Regions from separate parts of the Homo sapiens genome. Here all the other regions are linked to region 3. Evidence: promoter capture Hi-C in human tissues and cell types (Jung and others, 2019). All regions are on one chromosome and are shown on one strand. The core of a region is centred on a gene start or on the middle of the fragment in contact, and the rest is flanking DNA. Distances in the headings are between cores, read along the strand shown. Region 1 overlaps TVP23B (trans-golgi network vesicle protein 23 homolog B). Region 2 has its middle 27 kb from the start of FOXO3B. Region 3 holds the start of FBXW10 (F-box and WD repeat domain containing 10).

The links. Contacts are between HindIII fragments. The study calls those that stand out against the background at their distance.
Region 1: a contact is called between a fragment that was not itself captured here and the fragment with the promoter of FBXW10 in region 3, in 2 of the 25 tissues and cell types used here (mesenchymal stem cells and mesendoderm cells).
Region 2: a fragment that was not itself captured here is called in contact with the fragment with the promoter of FBXW10 in region 3 in 3 of the 25 tissues and cell types used here (bladder, mesenchymal stem cells and neural progenitor cells).

What each region holds. Positions count from the first base shown.
Region 1 is chr17:18,792,839-18,795,701 of GRCh38, forward strand. All of the region lies in intron 3 of TVP23B (trans-golgi network vesicle protein 23 homolog B), which reads left to right. Among named protein-coding and RNA genes, the nearest start is that of TVP23B, 13 kb to the left of the region's middle. The HindIII fragment of the contact is 3,545 bases long and covers 1-2,863 here.
Region 2 is chr17:18,707,465-18,710,307 of GRCh38, forward strand. It overlaps the pseudogene TRIM16L. Among named protein-coding and RNA genes, the nearest start is that of FOXO3B, 27 kb to the left of the region's middle. The HindIII fragment of the contact is 5,027 bases long and covers 1-2,843 here.
Region 3 is chr17:18,742,366-18,745,458 of GRCh38, forward strand. FBXW10 (F-box and WD repeat domain containing 10) reads left to right here and starts at 1,689. Exons shown (of 14, transcript NM_001267585.2): 1 at 1,689-2,384. The coding sequence starts at 1,880. The HindIII fragment of the contact is 4,270 bases long and covers 1-3,093 here.

The DNA.
Region 1 (2,863 bases), core at 65-2,564, 50 kb after region 3:
GGATAAGCAGGGTTCTGAAACAGTTAAAATAGAGATGTGTCGTAATTGTTATAAATCTCAATGTACTTACTAAAAAAACAAAAAATCAATCTTCATCTAAACCCCTAGGTGTCCAATCTTTTGGTTTCCCTGGGCCACAGTGGAAGAAAGAATTATCTTGGGCCACACATAAAATACACTAACATTAGCTGATGAGCTTAAAAAAAAAATCGCACACAAAAAAATCTCATAATGTTTTAAGAAAGTTTACAAATTTCTCCTGGGCCGCATTCAAAGCTGTCCTGGGCAGCATGAGGCCTGTGGGCAGAGGGTTGGATAGGCTTGCCCTAGGTGATGTTAATGAAGATAAAGAAGAGGTAGAGAAGGGAAAATAATTTAAAGGTATGCTTAAATGCTAAAGCTTATATTGGTTTTTATTTTATTCTTCACTCTGACAAATTGAGTAAAAAAGGTTAAATAATGGTTTTAAAAATTTAATGGCAACTATGGCTGGGCGCGGTGGCTCACACCTATAATCCCAGCACTTTGGGAGGCTGAGGCGGGTGGATCATGAGGTCAGGAGATCGAGACCATCCTGGCTAACATGGTGAAACCCCATCTCTGCTAAAAAAAAAAAAAAAAAAAAAATGAGCCGGGCGTGGTGGCAGGTGCCTGTAGTCCCAGCTATTCAGGAGGCTGAGGCAGGAGGCGGAGCTTGCAGTGAGCCGAGATTGCGCCACTGCACTCTAGCCTGGGCAACAGAGCAAGACTCCATCTCAAAAAAAAAAAAAAAAATAATGGCAACTATTAGTAAAATTTAAAACCAGTCGTGTATCTTCTGCAACATTGGAGAAGATGGAGCAAGTAAAACAGTTCATAGAGCAAAAGAAGGAAAACAAAGCAACTGTCAAGGAAGCTTAAATCAGAAAGTACATGTATAAAGTGATGTAAGTAATAGCAAATTCATTATAATAGGAAATGTAATTTGATTAAACTACCCATTTAAAGACAAGAATACTAAGATTGGTCAGAAATCAAAGTCCAAACAAAAGATCTAACAACATTAATGACATTAGAAAAAATAAAAGAAGGCAAAGATAACATCAGATCAACTCAAACAAAAAGAAACTTGGCATTGTATTATTATCAGATGAGATATGGATCAGAGTAAGAAAGCACTAAGAGGAACAGAAAAAGGTGATTTTATGAATCACAGTGAAGATCATTCACAGAGTAAAATTATATCAAACTATGTATAGTAAAAAAATTGGAAATATTAGAAAATAGAAAAGCATTATGATGAGTTTAACAAACTACTATCTTTAACAAACCAAAGTGCCAAAAAATAAATAAGTTCTGAAGGATCTGAATGAAATAATTGGCAACATCAATTTGATAGCAGTATTTGGGACTTTGTATGACAGAATACTTTCTTGTTAAATGCCTGTGGGGCATTTACAAAAATTGACTAAATATCACTGTGAAGAAAATCAAAATAAAATTGCCCAAAGCACCTACATTTTCTACTCCAATGAAACAGAACTAGAAATTAATAGAAAGTAGTTGTCGAAATTGGAATTCTTTTTAAAAAGCGAACTACTACATATCTTGGGTTTAAAAGGAAGCAAAAACTGTAAATATAGGTTATTTATACCTTAATGGTGATCATTTACAGTTAAACTTTCTGAATATGTCAAAAACTGAATTCAGAGGGAAAATAATAGACTAAAGCCTTTTATTTTAGACAAGAAAGAGGGAAAATAATGGACTACTTGAGTCCAGAAATTTCAAAAACAAGCAATAAGCGTGAGAAATCAGGAAAATAAACTAATAAAGATAAAAGCAGGAAATAAAGAGTTAGAAAATGGGAACACAGAAGAGTTTGAAAGTATTCTGAGAGCATTCTTTGAAAATACCTATAGAAGAGACCTCTGGTTTAGGTCTCCCTTGCCAGCTCTTTTTTTTTTTTTTACTTAGCATCTCTCCCATAGGAATTTTGGTCTCATAAGACTCTTCCTTTTCTTCTCCTGTATTCCCTTCCTAAGGAGTGCCGTTTATGCTTCTGGTTTTAATTGCTGATCTGTAAGCTGTGTTGCCTCCCAGATCTGTATCTCCATTCAGGTTTGTCCTCACAACTCAAGGCCTCTCCATGTGTCTTCTTGACGTTTTTATGTGGCTGTCTTGAAGGCATCTCAAATCTTTTTTTTTTTTTTTTTTTTTTTTTTTGAGACAAAATCTTGCTTTGTCACCCAAGCTGGAATGCAGTGGTGTGATCTCGGCTCACTGCAACCTCTGCCTCCTGGGGTTCAAGCCATTCTCCTGCCTCACCCTCCTAGATAGCTGAGACTACAGGCATGCACCACCATGCCTAGCGAATTTTTGTATTTTTAGTAGAGTCAGGGTTTCACTATGTTAGCCAGGCTGGTCTTGAACCCAAGTGAGCCACCATGCCTGGCCAGGCAACTTATATCTTAACATGTGTAAAATACTACTTGTCATCTTCCACTCCCCAAAAGCTCTTCTTCTTTGAGTGTTCCCTTTCGTGGGGCCTGGAATCACTATTTTTTTACTTGAGCAAACCAGAAATGTATCAGTTGCCTCCTTCCTACTCCATATCCAATTAATGACCAAGTCCCATAAATCCATAGATTGTACTTTCTTCATTAGGGCATCAGTGCCTGCTGCTCTATCTGGAATGCTCTTCTTCCTCCCACATCACCTTCATACAGGGATTCCTAATCTTTTTATGCCATGGGTCCCTTTCATAGACTCATGAATAAGTTTTCACATATATAAAGTACATAAGATTTCAAAGGAAGTCACTTATATTGAAATATAATTTAAAAATATTAGAAAAGTAAATTTCTGATTGAGTTATATGTGT
Region 2 (2,843 bases), core at 44-2,543, 35 kb before region 3:
TTTACCTCATCCCACTGTTTTGTGATCACCCCCCGGGAGATGAGGGACCCAGTTAATAGGCCAGATGTCAAGACTGATGACATTTCACACACTAAGAGAACTTGAAAGTTTACTATTCATACACAGGGTTTCTGGGGAGAGCAAGATAGATGAAAGCTGGTCCAAAATGGCAAGAACAGAGAGGAGGCTGGGCCTTTAAAGTAGCTAGGGAGTGGGGCTGGAGAGCATTCGATCTGTGGGCTTGAGGGATTCAAGCTTCCTGCCAGTGCTGGGAGCTCAGGAGATGCCCATGGATTTCTTTATCTAAAGCACCAGGTGTGCGGTGGGGCAGTGTGGAGGAGGGGAGAATAGAAAATGGTGGAAACTTAAATGCTGTCAATGGCCAGACATCAAAAATGGGGCCAAACTCTGTTACATCTACCTTTTCAGAAATCTTTTTTCACTTATCTCAAAATAGCTCTTTAATGTTATTGTGTCTTTTTTTTTTTTTTGAGACAGAGTCTTGCTCTGTCACCAGGCTGGAGTGCAATGGCATGATCTCAGCTCACTGTGACCTCCGCCTCCCAGGTTCAAGTGATTCTCCTGCCTCAGCCTCCCAAGTAGCTGGGACTACAGGTGCCCGTCACCACGCCCGGCTAATTTTTGTATTTTTTGTAGAGACAGGGTTTCACCATGTTGGCCAGGATGGTCTCAATCTCTTGACCTCATGATCCGCCCGTCTCAGCCTCCCAAAGTGCTGGGATTACAGGCGTGAGCCACTGCGCCCGGACTATTGTGTCTTCCGTTGATGAGGAATCTATTTTGCTTTTTCCATCTCCACTTTCTTAGAATTTTCTTTTTTTTCCCTTTCCTTAAGCCTGAAATTATAACAGTTCTCAGAAAGTAAGAACCATTTACCTTGGAAACTGTCAGCCTTACATAGTAACTATTATGCAATCCCAACAGAAGAGTTAGGGAAGATTGAGTCAACACTTTTAGAAAACATTAAAAAAAAAAGGTCATATGAATTTGTATCAGACTATCACCAGATTAAGTTACTTGAGGCTGCCTGATGAAAATTCCTGTATATGGCTCTAAGAAATTTTATGTGTACCTAATAAAGCCAGGCATTATTTTTTGGTTGCTGTGACTCAACACTTACATGCAAACTTTTTTTTTTCTTTCAAATCTTCCTAAGCTTAAATTGATGTTAGAGTCACTTTTTTGGTTTCCATGAATTATTTTCCCTGCCTTTTTTTTTTCTTCCTGTTTTAGATGCATTTCAGTTACCTGAGAGTAATCCAATTGTATAGGATTGGAGTCCCTTGACTTTCCCATATCATTCCCAGTGTACTAGCCAGAACCTGAGATTTCCCTGCTTTCTATTTTTCTCACTAAAAGGGCTATTCTGAACTCTCTCTTCTCACCTGCTTTCCTATCCTTCTCTTCTGTTTAAAGAAGTCGGTGTTAGTACAGCTTGAAATTCAATAGGGCTTGAATTACAGAAGGCACAACTGAAGTTAGAGAAGAAAGGATTTTTGTTCTGAAAATTAGCGGTGAGACAGACCACTCTGAATAAATGGTGATATCTGGAAATAATTTTTGAAATGCCCAAAATCCTTCGTAACTTTAAGAAATTGAAAAGGGGTGGGGAGGGTCGTCTATAAGAGTGTCTGTCATTAGAATAGGACTTCTTAAAGTAATGTTTGTTAACAATTGGTAACAAGGTCATTTCCAAACATAGTTCCTGGAGCCAGTTGGCTTTGGATTGGTAGAAACCATTGTTGTTCCTTCAGAGTCCTCATCTTTGGTAATTTATTTTAGAACAAAAGACTGAAGACAGATGTCCTTGAACAAAAGGTCTGTCCTCTAATGGGTGGATTGCATGAATTCGTGGATTGTACTGTAGTGAATTGGTATAATTCTCTTGTAGCCTAAATATAATTTGGATCCAGAAATATTAAAATTTTGAGGACATTATAGTGATGAAATATTTGAAATCAGAACAGTTCTAGAAATGTTATGACTCTGGGACTTACAGAGCCTTTTTTGTTTTGTTTCAGTTTTTACTCTGACTGTACTGTTAGTAGTATGGTCTATGCTTGTGCTCTCCTCTCAGATTTGTTTGTTTGTTTGTTTGTTTGAGACAGGGTTTTGCTCTATTGCCTGGGCTGGAGTGCAGTGACGCCATCACAGCTCACTGCAGCCTTGAACTCTCAGGATCCTTGATCCTCCCACCTCAGCCTCCTGAGTAGCTGGGACCACAGGCAAGCGTCACCACACCTGGCAAATTTGTTTGTATTTTTTGTAGATGGTGTTTTGCCATATAGCCCAGACTGGTCTTGAACTCTTGAGCTCAAGCAGTCTGCCCACCTTAGCTTCCTGAAGTGCTGGCATTACTGGCATGAGCCGCCACGCCCAGCATTTGGATATTTCTATAACAGGGTTCTCTTTCGTGGGCTGTAGTGTAGACCACACTTACCCTTCATGATGGAGAATATAATTCCTCTCCTTTTACAACCTAAGCTAAAGCTCAGTGTGTTTGTTTGGTTGTGGTAAAGTCTGGGGTGGGGGTTTGATTTGGGGCTTTAGATAGTAAATGTTCTGATATTTTGATCTCTTTTTGGTAGGTAATCTGGATTCTTTAGTTTTTAAATCATGAGTGTCTAATTTTCTAACTTATATGTTAAAATTGCCTGTATGCTTGGCTGATATGTGTCCAGTGAAGGGAAAATTAATTTATATGTTAAATTAATTCCTCCAAGCAAATTATCCTGAATAATTTGCACTGTTGTGATAAACTAACTAGGGTGACCCCAGGCTTGATTTGAGGATTGCAGGAAGAGATATTTAGTGATTAAAGT
Region 3 (3,093 bases), core at 439-2,938:
AGCCCGTTGTCATCTTCTCAAAGAAGCTGTTTAGAAAAGGAGGTGCCGAGGGGCAACAACATACTATGGTCCACAGGTGTTTGAGGAGAACCGTGTGTGTGCAGTGTTGAGGGAGAGGGGATAAGACTCATGTCTGAAATCTAGTCTCTCTGACTCCCAAGTTTGTGGCCCTGAAATGTGAAATAAAGACTGAGTTGGGTGATTAAAACTGCTTCCTTGGCCTGGGGTGGTGGCTCACGCTGTAATCCCAGCACTTTGGGAGGCTGAGGCGGGCGGATCACTTGAGGTCAGGAGTTTAAGACCAGCCTGGCCAACGTGGCAAAACCTCGTCTCTACTAAAAATATAAAACTCAGCTGGGCATGGTGGCCCATGCCTGTAATCCCAGCTACTCGGGAGGCTGAGGCAGGAGAATCACTTTAACCCGGGAAGCAGAGGTTGCAGTGAGCCGAGATGCCACCACTGCCCTCCAGCCTGGGGGATAGAGCGAGACTCTGCCTCCAAAAAAAAAAAATGCTTCCTTGAAGAATGTCAGCCTCATAGATTAAAATCCTAATTTATTTAAATCTTTAAAAACAAGCTATTTATAATCTGTCAATTATAAATAAACAAGTTAATTACGAAAAAAAAAAAAGAGCTACTTTTAGCTTGCAGCACTTCTTAGGGTAACGTGCTCGCCTTACAGATCCAAAGAGTCTGCTTCGGGCCTCCCTTCTCTTTGCCACCCTCCTTTGTCTGGCCTTCCCGATTAATTAAATATTAATCTACTCATGCCTTTTCTCCAGATTCCTCTTCAGACAGAAGAGGTTGAGCTGTGAGAACTGATCTCATTCTTAACCTGATTCTTATTCCCCATTCTGACCCTAGTATGTGACTGCCATTGCCAACAAAACCCCAGCGATGGACTCCATTACCTTTCTCTGGTTGTGCCTGGTCTTTCAACATGGGCATTAGAAAGGCACACAATATTGCAAACCTTTTGATTTTATCTAGGGTAATAATACTTAGTAACAGTAACAATAGCAGCAACAACTGATCTCATATATTTAATGCAATCCTAGAAGGTAGTTATCATTTTTATTACCCACCTTTATCTTCTCCATCCTCATAACTAGGATGGAGACACTGAGGCTCAGAGAGGACAGGTTGCCTGCTCGAGACCATATAGCTCCTAAGTACCAGAGTCAATGTTTGAACCGAGTCTTACCTGCAGTAGGAGAATTATCTCAGCATGACTTTGAAACTCTTTCTGTGAGCTGCCCAATATGTTTTGCCTGGGCCCTTTGACTACAGTGAGATTTCTGGTTAGTATTGTGAAGCAGTTAAATAACTTAAATTTACATTAAACATTTCTGGTTTTACTTTGATGATGACTTAAGAAAATGAATATAAACATATTTAGCATCATTGGGATAGCCAGTTTGTAACTGAACAGATATAAACATAAGAAGTTTGCATCTTATTTTATATTCATGAATATTCAGAAGCCATATATAACAACAATAATTAAAGTGCAATACCAGTAATAGTCCACATATTACTTAAATTTGACTAACAGTATTCTTGTTGTTCTAGAAATGAGATGACCAGCTCTTTCAGAATATACAGCAACTGCCTCCACATAAAGCAGTGCCAGGTTTAGGAGATTTACGGTAAAGCCATGTTTCCAAGGAGGTCTGTACAAAAAGCCAGACTTCTGCTGGCAGTTACTGAGAGAGATAGGCTTTCCATCCATGGCAGCCATTTACTTTTGCTCTGGGAGACGTTTGTAATAGAAAAGGCACAACTGGGGTATTTATTCATTCCCCCCGTTCCTCTAGTGTTTGGTGGCGTTGCCGTTGCAAGTGCGCAGGGCTAAAATGGACTGGTTATCTTAGGATCATGGAAAACCTGGAATCAAGGCTCAAGAATGCCCCCTATTTTCGTTGTGAGAAGGGAACCGATTCCATCCCTCTATGCCGGAAGTGTGAGACGTGTGTCTTAGCCTGGAAGATCTTCTCTACCAAAGAGTGGTTCTGCAGGATCAATGACATATCACAGAGGAGGTTTCTAGTTGGCATTCTGAAGCAGTTAAATAGCTTATATTTGTTACACTATTTCCAAAATATCCTTCAGACCACACAGGGAAAGGATTTCATCTATAACAGGTCCCGGATCAACCTCAGCAAGAAAGAGGGGAAAGTTGTGAAGTCCTCCTTGAACCAAATGTTGGATAAAACAGTAGAACAGAAGATGAAAGAGATCTTGTACTGGTTTGCGAACAGCACCCAGTGGACCAAGGCGAATTATACTCTCTTACTGCTGCAGATGTGCAACCCCAAATTACTGCTCACTGCTGCCAATGTGATCAGAGTCCTGTTTCTGAGAGAGGAGAACAATATCTCAGGTAAACAAGGCCACAGGCAGAGACTAGAGGGCCCCCGAAGACCAGAAGGCAAGGCTTCAGAAATCTGTAAGGAACTGCAGTTGTAGACAACATAGGTAGACAGAGATTGCACAGAACTCAGCATAGGTTTTTTGAACTGACACCTTGTCCTGACACCCGATCCTGTTTACCAAAGGAGAAATGACTGAGTGTAACTTCCTTCTTGAAAATGATCAATGCAGGAGGAAGTACACAACTTTTAACTCACAAGCATTTATCATGGATTTCTGCATCTCATAGGCCCAGAAATGGCTGGTCCCTGCCCCTGACCCCTTAATGCTGGTGTCGTTCCTGCTTTAGGGATTGGACTGAGCTCGAGAGGGTTGTAAAGGGGAAGCTTTTGTTTTTCTCTTCAGCTGCCCTGCACAGAAACCAGACCAAGAAGTCAAAACTTAGGGCTTTTTTTTTTTTTTTCATTCACTCTACCATGCTCCTTGCTTATCCATGAAATGAAACCTTAAAGTAGAGTTTCTCCAAGGCTGGAGATAGCTTAAGGGCCAAATAAGTCTAGGGTGGTAGTTCTCCAGCTGTGGCTTGTATCAGGATCTCCAGCAGGACCTGTTAAAACAAGCTCCTCCCCCAGAACTTCGGACTCAGCAGGTCTGAGGTGGGCCCAGGATTCTGTATGTCTTTTCTTTTTTTTTTGAGATGGAGTCTCGCTCTGTCACCC